Regions from separate parts of the Homo sapiens genome. Here region 1 is linked to region 2. The links are contacts of gene promoters, found by promoter capture Hi-C in blood cells and fetal thymus (Javierre and others, 2016). All regions are on one chromosome and are shown on one strand. The core of a region is centred on a gene start or on the middle of the fragment in contact, and the rest is flanking DNA. Distances in the headings are between cores, read along the strand shown. Region 1 holds the start of LOC124900192. Region 2 holds the start of PRR16 (proline rich 16).

Region 1 (6,054 bases), core at 678-3,177, 3.0 Mb after region 2:
GGTAAGTGTAGCTTCATAATGTGTAGCTATCTAGACCTTGGATGGCCAGGGCAAGAGATTTGGATTGCTTTCTACATGGGGTGAGAAGACATTGGAAAGTTTTACACAGAAGGATCATGTGATTTGATCTATGGAAGTAAAAGGGTTGACTCCGCTATCTGCTTGCATATTTTAGGGGACAAGAGTTGAAGCAGGGTGGCCAGATTGTCATTCTTTTGGTATCCTAGGTAGACAATGATGGTGTTTCAGCTAGTATGGAGTTGGGGAAAAATGGAAGTAATATGAAAGTCTTTATTGACGATTAGAGGTGAAGTTGAGGGAAAGAATGAAATCAAACCAATGCTAGATTTTGACTTACAAAAATAGGTATAGACCTATTTTCTAAGATGAGATAGAGTGGGGAGAAACAGGTTTAGAGAACGGAATCAAAAATTCTACTTTAGATATCTTAAGTTTGAGATAAACGTATAAGTAGAGACGAAGAGTAGCTGGTTGGACATGTGTGTGAAACTCAGGGGAGAAGTAGAGTCAGGGCATAAAAATATAAAAATCATCTGCATATAAATGATACTTAAAGCCAAAGGGGTGAGATGCAAGTGAAATCACCTATAAATGACAACAGATATAGAAGAGATGATAAATACAGAACTCATCCAAGGGCATGCCAATCTCTAGCAGTGAGGAAGAGCAGAGATTAAAAAATAGAAAGAAATTATTGACAGGATAACATGAACATATATAAAATAATAAAAATTTCATACAAACGAAAGCGCCTAAGAAAAAAATAATGTTAGGAAAACATTTGCATCAGACAGGATTTCCAAAGTGTTTATATTGTGATTATTACAGTATTTTTAGAGTCTTCCTTTTCATATTAAATAAGGCAAAGGATATGAACAAACAGTTTATATAAGCAGTGATTATAAAAACATGGCAAACGTGCATTCTGTCCATTATTGAAGAAATAAAAAAATAAATTTTTTTTTTCAGGACACACTGTATTCTTCTTCTATGGATAAAACAATTGCTTAAATAAAAACATTCAAAGTTTGTGAGACTGTAGTGAAACTAATACAGTTGAACACCGCTGTCTGCTTTATAAGAAACAATATGTAGTAAGAGATAAAATGTTTATCCAATTTGAGTCAGTAATTCCACCTTTGGGAATATATTTCCTAAAGTCATAATTCCACAGAAGAGGACTACTTATATGCAGAACTAGATTTTTATTGCAATAAATTTTATCTTTAAGAAACTGAAGAAAATCAATACAACCACAAATATAGAAGTGATCAAATCAAGCATAATCTACTTAGGCTAGATGAATATTTTAAAACTACTAAAAATTGCCATTAAAAGTCATATATCAAAACTCATGAAAATGCGTATAACATAAATGGATTATTTTTAAAGAAGATTAAATGACATTTGTGTTGTTTAGTCTGTCCCATTCTTACGACCAATTGACAACATTTTCTCTTTTTTTTACTTTCACATTTCTAAAATGTAAAATCCCAATGGACTTGCTTTCTACTCCATCCCCCAGTATAATTTTATCCAATTGCTTATTTTGTTGGCATGAACTTTAGGGATGTAACTGTGAGTTAGCAATGACATAACTACTGATGGATCTTTTGGGATAGGCCTTATTCAGAAATCAAGATGTGGAGACCTCATGAGGATCCAATAAGTCAGAGGTGGAGGGGGTCAGCCACAGATAAGCTGTAGAGTGGAGCTGAAACTGACAACAGGGACATGTTTATTTATAACAGAAGCACGTGGAAGTATGAAAACAAGATAGGTTTACGTTTTAGTCCAGAATCCTAAAATATGAATAGTCTGAAAATGGAAGAAAAAGATTTTAATGCATGCCCCGATGCATAATAATGGGCTAAATATAGAATTCTTAGAGAAGATGCATTGATCTGAATAGTGTTTGGTTGGTGGTTTCAACAGAAAGAACTAAAACATCTGTTTTTCCACTTAAAGCGTTTTTGGACATTCAAAGAAAGTCACTTAAAACTGTAACACTAGCCTCCTGGAAATCAAAACTTATGTTGAAGAAAATCATTTTAATGAAAAATGTAAGACAATGTTGTGAGCAGGTTAAGGGAACATTTCACTTCAGGGGCTTTTTCAAAACATCCCCTAAATTACAGAACAAAAGATAGCCTTGTCTCAGAAGTCTGTTTCTCCTGGGCTGGCGATGCACCTCTAAGAGTAATTTAGGCACCTAAGGAAGGACTTTTCAGACAAGAGAGGAATAAATGACCATTCGCATCTTACAGAAGGATCACCAAGAGCATTAGCATGTCCCTGTAAGTGCACCTCTGTTTTCTGGGGCATTGATCACATCGAAACTTGATTTCTCTTAAGATCCACTGAATCCCAAAAAGAAATTGAGGTGTATACTTTTCATTATCCCATTTGCAAAGTGAATGATTTTTTTTTTTAATCCAAAAAAGCAGCATCAAAATCAGGCCACTAAGAAGAAAGGTAAATCTGGTGCTGAAGGAATATGCTCCTTATTCCTCAATGGCGTACGGAAGTTTATGATTCTGTTGAAAAAGTCATAACTCCGCTTCATTCTCTTGAGATGCAGAGTAAAGGGAGAAAATAGTGTTATTAATTTTATCAAAATTCTGCCCTCTCAGGATGGCTGAGTTGAGATGTCAGATGCCAGTTCTCCTCAGAAAGAACCAAAGTTACAGATGAATAATCGTAAGTTGAATAGAAGATTAAGGAGAGAGTGCCAGAACCTATTGGAGAACTCACAGAAAGAAGCTAGGGCACAGAAAAAAGAAGGAAGAGTGTGGCAGAGATTGAACCCCAAGGAACTTGGAGTCTGGTGGAAAGGGTAGGTGCGGTGTTTTGCGTTCCACTCACAGCTGTGGCAGACTGGGTTTCCGAGCTGTAGGAGAGCTCCTTTGCTGGCCCTAGCCCAAGGACCGGTGTGGGTGGTGATTTGTTAATTTACTGAGGGCATTGCACCAGGCTACCAGCTTGTGTAAAGTTGCTCACCCTCTCCCCAGACCTGAGCTGCAGTGGTAAGCGCCATATTGAGTGTGCATCATTGTGGTCCTCTGTCCTGCCCAGAAAATCTCAGCCTTCGTGTCTCCACATCACCAGATCCCCCGCAGACATTCCCTAGCACCTGCTTAGATTGCAGCAGCCACACATGGGGCCAGATGTACCTAAGGTAGCTGCAGAATTCCCGGTGGTCTGAACCTCAGGGTATGCTGCCCCTAGGGGAAGGGAGAGTGCAGCGCGCCTAGGGAGTGCCCCATGGGACAAACGAAGCCAGAGCGTATGCTCTCCCGTGCCCAAGAGTTTCCTGCTTGGGGACTGAGGGTGACAGCACCCCTTCCAGCAGAGAAATGGGCACCATGCTCAGTGCTCTGGGGGGAAGTGTTTTTTAGCCCCAGTGGTCAGGCAGCCCCAGTGCTCAGGCACAGTAGTAGAGAGGAGGATTTCTCCTTCCCGACTGCCCACTGCTGCAGACAAAGCCGTGGATGCCTGTGGACAGCCAATACAGGACTATCAGGAGCAGCTACAATGATATTGGTGGTGTGCCTACCTGCCGAGTCCGACCTTCTTGCACCATAGGCAGAACCCCTTCCTCTCTCCACACTGAGTGGCAGCGTCCTCGCAGTGGAGAACAGATGACCAGCAAAGCTGTCTGTTTTCGGCTGAGGGAAGAGACTCCTCCCTGAAACCATGGTACAGGTGTTTTCTGTGGCTCTCAGCTTCATTGCAGCTTGAAGATAGACGGCAGTGTCTGTTTGAACTGAGACACATGAGACCCGGGACAGGAGTATGATAGGGAAACGTTCCTGCCTATCCAGGATGTGAAGCTGGCGCAACCGCCTACCACCTCTGGAGAGACCTCGGCACATTTCACCAGTTTTCCCTGCTACCCTCATCAGCACTGGTGCTGCTGCTTGTCACTGGAGTACCTGAGGCTGAGACTGGCTGTCCAGCTCCGCCCAGCTTTGACCCCTGCTCCAGGGCTGAGCAGGTAACTCACGGCACCGGACATTCCACCGACCAGTCCATCCCTTCAGGTAACAGCGAGCTCCTCCTAGAAAATAAAGATTAAGCCTATACTTACCTGTTTCTGCCACAGCCAGTTCTTACTTACTAGTGCCACCTACTGGCCGGGAGGTTGAACTGCACAACCCGATACAAAATCTGACTCCAGAGCACAGCGCATGGAAATGAGATAAGCTTCTTGAGGCCTCCACCTGCCTGTCTCTATAGGAGACTGAGCATTTACTCACGTGCCCAGTATGTCACTACTACAACCACCATTTGAGAAATTCACCACACCAAGGAAAAGACCTTGCCCGCATGATTCAGTTACCTCCTACTGGGTCCCTCCCATGACACGTGGGAATTATGGGAGCTACATTTCAAGATGAGACATGGGTGGGGACACAGCCAAGCCATATCAGGACTTAAAAGTAAGACCTCAATCTATAAAAATTCTAGAAGAAAACCTAAGAAAAACTCTTCTGGACATTGGCCTGGGCAAATAATTTATGACTAAGACCTCAAAAGCAAATGCAACAAAAACAAGAAAAGACAAATGGGACTTAATTAAACTGAAAAGCTTCTGCACAGCAAAATAAATACTCAACACTGTAAACAGACAACCTACAGAGTGGGAGAAAGAATTTGCAAACTATGCATCCCACAAAAGGCTAATATCAGAAATGTACAAGTAACTTAAACAATAAAAAAACTCCATTAAGAAGTGAGCAAAGGAAATTAACAGACACTTTCTAAAAGAAGACATACAAGCAGCCAACAGACATGAAAAAAATGCTCAACATCACTAACCATCAGAGAAATGCAAATTAAAACCACACTGAGATATCATCTCACACTAATCAGAATGGCTTTTATTAAAAAGTCAAAAAATAGCAGATGTTGGAGAGGATGCAGAGAAAAGGGAATGCTTTACACAATGTTGGTATGAATGTAAATTATTACAACCTCTACGAAAAACAGTGTAGAAACTTCCCAAATAAGTAATATTTGAACTATCCTTAAATCCAACAATCCCACTATTGGTTATCTGCCCAAAGGAAAAGAGCTTAATATATCAAAAAGATACCTGCACTTCTATGTTTTTCAGAGCACTGTCCACATTAGCCAAGATGTGAAATTGACCTAAGTGTCCATTGACAGATTATTGGATAGAGAAACTGTGGTATATACATACCATAGAATACTACTCCGCCATACAAAATAATGAAATTACATCCTTTGTTGCAACATGGATGGAACCGAAGCCTATTATCTTAAGTGAAATAACTCAGAAACAAAAAGTTAAATACCACATGCTCTCGCTTATAAATAAGAGCTAAACGACGTATACATGTGGACATACAGAGTGGAATAATAGACTTGGGAGACTACAAAAGGCGGGACAGTGGGAGAGGGGTAAGGGATGAAAAAATACCTAATGAGTACAATGTACATTATTTGGGTGATGGTTACACTAAAACTCAGACTTCACTGCTCGCAATATATCCATGTAACAAAAATGCATGCGTGCTCCTAAAATCTATAAAAATTAAATAAATAAATAAATAAGTGGTACAATAAAACCTCATTGGGTACCCAGTAGAATTGCCTAAAAATAATGATTAGAAACTTAATGCATATATTAAATGTCTTAGTTTGCTCTCAGGCATTTACTTTATTATTTAATATGTTAAATGTAACAATTTTTATTATAACATTTTATAAAAATATGAATTTTGCATATTATTTTCTACGTAGAAAGTACACATCAGAACTGCCACAATGATACTGCAATGAATCTCACGTACTGGGCATCTTTTGTCTTAGCCTGGTTTCCCCAGAAATTGGAGATTGAGGCAAAGGCTTATGAGCTACTACTGTTTTAGGAAATGTAATCCCAGAGAGCTGACCTGAGAGACAAAGGGAGAGAAAGAGTATTTAAAAAGTAGAGTATACTACAAAAATGTGCTATTGAATTAGTGGTGATTGCCTGATCTCTAAGAAGCATTCTCTAAGAAAACA
Region 2 (5,662 bases), core at 2,232-4,731:
TAGAATAAGGCTGCTCTTTGACTTTCTAGAAAGCCTGTTCCTCTGCTTCTAATATATAATCCAATTATAACTGATTAAGTAATTATAACTAAATAATCATAAAACAGATACCCAAAATAACAACTCTTCTTGCTGAGCAGACTAGAGTTTTGTCACTACTTATTAAAGTGTTTCAAGCAATTACTATTATGTTTGATTCTATCCTACTACCTGAGTTTTCAGATGACTTAAGCCCAGAAAACTTCTATGAAGAAAAGCAATTTCAGAGTAACCTCAAACCAAAGTTTAATATTGTTGGTGCAGAAATTACACAAAAACAAAGAACAGAATTAAAGAAGATTGCATTTTAACTAGATATTTTTTAAAAGCAGAAAGAAAAAATAAATACTATATGATGACTGCCATAGTGATATAGTCATAACTACTTTTTTATTTTTAATTTCTGTTGCAAGTTAAGAAGAGCTCGCCGATAATTTATATTAAAATATATTATGGTCTAAAAGCATAGCATTGCCAATAAAGGAATTAGAATTCTAAATATAGCAGTTTATATTTAACACGTACTAATTTTAAGCTGCCAGAATACTGAATATGATGAATAGCAACATTCATGTACAGCAACCAACAAGCTTTGTAATGTACAAAGTTTTGTTATTTCTTTATCCAAAACTATACCAAAGACATGTTCACTCACATATGCAGGATTATCCTAAAAAGATACATGCTGGACAACTGCAAGATGTCATAGGTTAAACATACCCTATAAATACTTTGTTCTCAAAATATTTTCATTCATATTCTATGAATAGCCGATGTTTTGGGATTTGGCCATTGTAGGTACATTTTCTTGTGCAAATCTAGGATGATGATACCCACACAAAAGTAATTAACAATCACATCACATTATTTATGTCATAAATTTCAGTTTCATGGTGAGATTTTTACTCAAACAGATCCTTAAGACAAACAAATCTTCCAAAATGTTGAGTCAAAATTGTATCTCTAGATCTGTCAGATAGTTTCATCTACTGGGTTGTACATTATCTCTGCTTTTTATTCCTCTTATAAACAACCTTTTTTTTAACCTTAAAAAATCTTCAGTAATGAAGACACAGAAAGTGGTATCAACAGATTTCCTGACTTACATTTTTGTGATTCTAACCAATAACCACAGGGAGGTTGAAGATTTCACTACTTAATCTCTAAATGTCCATAAATAATGATGCAAAGCAAAACCAGGACCATGTGCAGTTTCTTGTCATTTATTCTGTGCAAAAAAAGTGAGTGGACTGACATTAAAACATAAGGAAGTATGGCTCACAGATGCAGAATTCTGTTTAACTACCTTTCTTTTAGTCTCAGCCTCATGAAAACAGTAAATACGTTTCTGTGCCGCTGTAGGTTTTCCACATCGCCCATAGAAACCTCACCAACTATTAAGCACAATTCTGCCGAAAGGAACATGCCCAATTTCATTTTTTAAAACGCCATGTTTCAGATGAAAACACAGTCTACCAAAGATGTCATATAAAAGAATAACAAAGAAAGGGACAGCATTTTTAGAATTGAATTTCAATGCATAACCCCACCATCTGTCAACCAGTTGTGAAGCAATAATCCTACAGAAACCCTGAAAACACGAACAAGTTTTATCCCTGAATCTATGTATACTAACAGCCACTCTCAGGACCTCAGTACTAATTATGTTCTGTCTGTGGAGTAACCTACAGGAACGACATTTACCACTGGCAAACTTAACCCTGGTGACGAATGGCCCATTTTAACAGACTTGCATTAGGTAACAAATGCAGAGTTCAGTTCATAGAGGTAACGGGGGAAGGGGAGGAAGACGAGGGGGCTCTTGAAATTTGGTTTGGAAATTGAATACAGGAGGTTAATCTCTAGAGGCCAGTCATCCAAACAACCCTCAGTCTCCTCCCCGTTGGCTTCAGAAACAGGATTACAATTTTGGACCTAGACTACGCCCCACCCCTTTTCCCGCTGCAGCCACCGCCACCTTCGAAGTTCTAGTCTTAGCTCTCACGCAGCGGAGCTGCGGACTCCCTCACCGAGAACCGCACCAGGACCCCATTCAGTAGTGAGCGGCGCGCTGGGACTCTGCTACCAGCTCCGCGACGCCGCCGGCAGCCAGCCTGGCTCGGGAGACCCCACCCCTCCCAGCCCGGCCCCCGCCCCCGCCCGGAGCCGCCGCCTGAGTTACGCAGCCTCAGCCCTGACACCTTCTCTGCTTCTTTCCATCTGGATCACCTGGGGCTAGGGGCGGGCGGGAGTAGGGCTGAACCGAAGTGGGATAGGAAAAGCGGGGAAGAACCGAAGCAGTCCCAGCTGCAGAGAGCCAGGACGCCAATGGCAAGACCCCGGCCACACATACACTCTCCTGCGCGTCCTGCTTCTCGGGTTCAATGCCAAGTGGCGACAGGGTGGAAGGAAGGAAGCAGAGGTAGGGTGGCGGGAAGGCCCAGAGTTACTGGTAACGACGTTCGGAGGAGAGCAGGGGATGCTTCAGAAACTGAGAAAGTGAGAAAGTCCCAGACCCCCTCCTTAGCCCCAAGGCTGCCAGCAGCCCGGGTCGCCTTCCCTACAGCGAGGCTCGAGAGACAGGGAGGGTAGTCTGAGCCAAGCTTCCTCCAGGCTGCCCTCCCTGATCTGGCCCAGGGCCCAGAACCCGGCCCCTCTTCAGCCCTGACTTGGGGAGGCTGACAGATAGGCAGCGGACTTGCCAAAGGACTCTGGGGAAGCAATAGGGCAGGAGAGGAGCATCTTGCACGCTCCAGCCGGGCTGCTCACGACTTCCTCTGCCGACACACCCCCAGCTAACCCTCTCCCCCGTCGTCACACACACAGATTCAGAGACACGCGTGCGTTCATCCCTCCCACCAGCCCAGGTCCATCGATTAAAACACTAGTTGATTTCTTCCTGATTAAAAAAAAAAATTAAAAAGTGCAACAACAACTCCTCTCAGGACTCCAGGAGCAAAGAAAGTCCGTCTGCAGGCGCCTTTTCTGTAGTTTCCCAGGAGTTTGGAAATCTGGCTGTCCCTGCTGAAAATCGGAAAGGGGACCCCGGAGGGGTCGAAGGGTGCCGAACTCCCTCCCCACCCCTGCGCCTCTCACCTCCTTAAGTTCCTTGGCCACGTCCTTCAGGTCGCCCAGGACTAATTCCAAATCCTCCACGATGATCTTGATCTGTTCCTTCACCTTGGTTTTGGAGGCTGCCGGCGGTCCCTCGGCTGGACAGGACGAGGAGGGGTTCCCCTTGGACTTGGCTGACATTCTTTGGGGGCAAGCGAGGCAGGTCAGGACAGGCGGGCGAGCGGAGGCTGCTGCGTGCCCCCGTCCCTGGCGCTGCTACGGCCGCTGCCGCCCCGGTCCCCCCACATCTTGGGCGCTCCCTGGGCAGCGGCGAGTGGCTGCGCTCCGCGCTCGGCCGGGCGGCCGCACAGTGGTGCTGCCATCAACTCCCGAGACGCGGCGCTCGGCTCGGGGCTGCAGACGGGCGAGCAGCGCGCCTGCGCCTCCTCCCGCCGCCGCCCGGCGCTCTCGCGCACACGCGCTCGCTCCCCGCCCGCGGAGAGGGGCGCCGTGCTGCCGCGCCAGGGTTGACGCTTGCAGTCCCCTCGACGTTGCCCTTCGAGATATCTCCCAGATGCCACCTTGGCATCAAGGTGGGGGAGACAAGTCCGTGTCCTGCCCGCCCCCTCCTCTTGGTTCTGAAATGTCCCCATCATCTCAGCCTGCTTGCTGTATGTCATCTCACAACTAGCCTGGATTCTTTCTGCTTCACTTGCTAGCAGGGACCTGGATCAATTCAGAAAGAACCACAGTGGGATCAGGAGTTGGAGACAGTCTGTAAAGTGGCCCTACAGATTTATCCAAACCCAAATGATGTCCAGAGGCCTTTAATCAATCTCTTGGTGACCTGCGAGTTAAGCAGACTTCTTAACTTCTGCAAGAAAAAAGGGGGGGGGGGGTGCACATAACAGCTAATGGTCATCTATTGAAACCATGAAATTCAACCAGTGTTCTTGAAAGAGGTACCCTAATCCTGCTAATTCCACAAAGCTAATACCGGATTTATTAATTTGAAGTCCCCACACCCCAAATCCTCTCTGATTGTCTCAGTCATCTTGGCTGTATGTCTTATTTGGCCCAACTCTTTTTTTTTTTTTTAACTGTCCTTCCTCTTTTTGTGACCTATGCTGATTTACATTTTGAGTGGAGTGGGGGAGACATCGTATTTGGACCTCGTGAAGGAGCTGAGTAAGAGATTGCCTCCAACTTCTCTTTCATCATTTTTTAAACCTCCATTTCAACTCTTTTGCTACTAAACAAATAGGAAACAACTTTCTGACTGTTCTGTCAAAAAGACCCAAGAAGGGAAGTTAATAGGAAGCCTTCGGTTCACTCTCAGTAGGTGTCTACAATTCTCATTAGCTAGAATTTTAACTTCCTTAGTTGTAAACCCATGGGCTATTAGCTACTGACCCAGCAGGCTGGCTCTACTTTATTTTCTTCACTGCACACTCCTCCAGATCATTCTTTTAATAGGCTTCCCCTTTTCGTCGTGCCTTAGCAAGGCTCTCTGTTTCTTGCTTCTCACACTCTGGGTAGCTCCACTGTGCTACACATAAAGAAAAGCTTGGCAGCTCTCCTCTTCCCAGTTCTGTAGGCTCTTAATCAATCACTCTCTTAATCCTGGACAATTCATCTTTACAAAACCTTTGGAAGTCATATGTGGAATATAGAGGAAGAAAGAGAACAGAAGAAAAAATTGAAATTTGAAAGTGGTGTCAAAAGAAAACCATTGAAAACTGCATTGAAAAATCAGGGGAAGAAATGAGAAAAGGTGAAAAGCAGATGCTGCTGGAAAGACTTAAGAAGAGATTATAAGAACAAGTCTGCAGCATGCAAACTGGAGAAAAGAAAAAGAGAAGAAATGATTAAAAGTGTGAAATAAGTAATATGCTTGAGTTCTCTGAGGTAGGGAGAATTAGATTTTTAAAACATCCTTTTTCTCCTCAAATTCTTTATTTTATAAAAAATATAACATTAAAATAATTATATCAGGTTTACAGACTCCCCAAAATTGTCAAAACTAGCAAAAGCTAATGGTAGGGGAAAAGAGAAAGTACTATTCTTCTAGATTGGAATTATTTTTGACTCTTAATAGTAGGCAAGTGTGTAAGAAAGCCGCCAAACTCAAAGTTAAGTGACTTTAGACAAGGATATGGGAGAGGAGGAAAGGAAATTGTGATTTCCCTCACAGTGACAAAATAATCCTCCCACAATATAAGAAGATGTCCATGCTACTCTGAATCTCATTCACTAAAGATTAAAAAAAAAAAAACAAAACAGGCTAGGCACAGTGGCTCATGCCTGTAATCCCAGCACTCTGGGAGGCCGAGATGGGTGGATCACAAGGTCAGGAGTTCAAGACCACCCTGGCCAAGATGGCAAAACCCCATCTCTATTAAAAATACAAAAATTAGCTGGGCATGGTGGCAGGAGCCTGTAATCCCAGCTACTCAGGAGGCTGAGGCAGAGAATTGCTTGAACCCGGGAGGTGGAGCTTGCAGTGAGCTGAGATCGTGCCAGTGCACTCCAGTCTGGGTGACAGAGCGAGATTCCGTCACAAAAACAA

Evidence for each region. Contacts are between HindIII fragments. The CHiCAGO score rates a contact against its expected background, and 5 or more counts as called.
Region 1: a fragment that was not itself captured here is called in contact with the fragment with the promoter of PRR16 in region 2 in 1 of 17 cell types (non-activated CD4 T cells); the score reaches 6.0 in non-activated CD4 T cells.

The regions. Positions count from the first base shown.
Region 1 is chr5:117,452,978-117,459,031 of GRCh38, reverse strand. It overlaps LOC124900192, which reads right to left and starts at 4,083. Exons shown (of 2, transcript XM_047417986.1): 1 at 3,578-4,083. The coding sequence starts at 3,923. All of the region lies in intron 2 of LINC00992 (long intergenic non-protein coding RNA 992), which reads right to left. RefSeq lists an enhancer at 4,255-4,424. The HindIII fragment of the contact is 4,604 bases long and covers 1-4,229 here.
Region 2 is chr5:120,462,119-120,467,780 of GRCh38, reverse strand. It overlaps PRR16 (proline rich 16), which reads right to left and starts at 3,481. Exons shown (of 2, transcript NM_001300783.2): 1 at 3,136-3,481. The coding sequence starts at 3,294. RefSeq lists an enhancer at 2,606-3,107 and a silencer at 3,513-3,562. The HindIII fragment of the contact is 2,017 bases long and covers 2,645-4,661 here.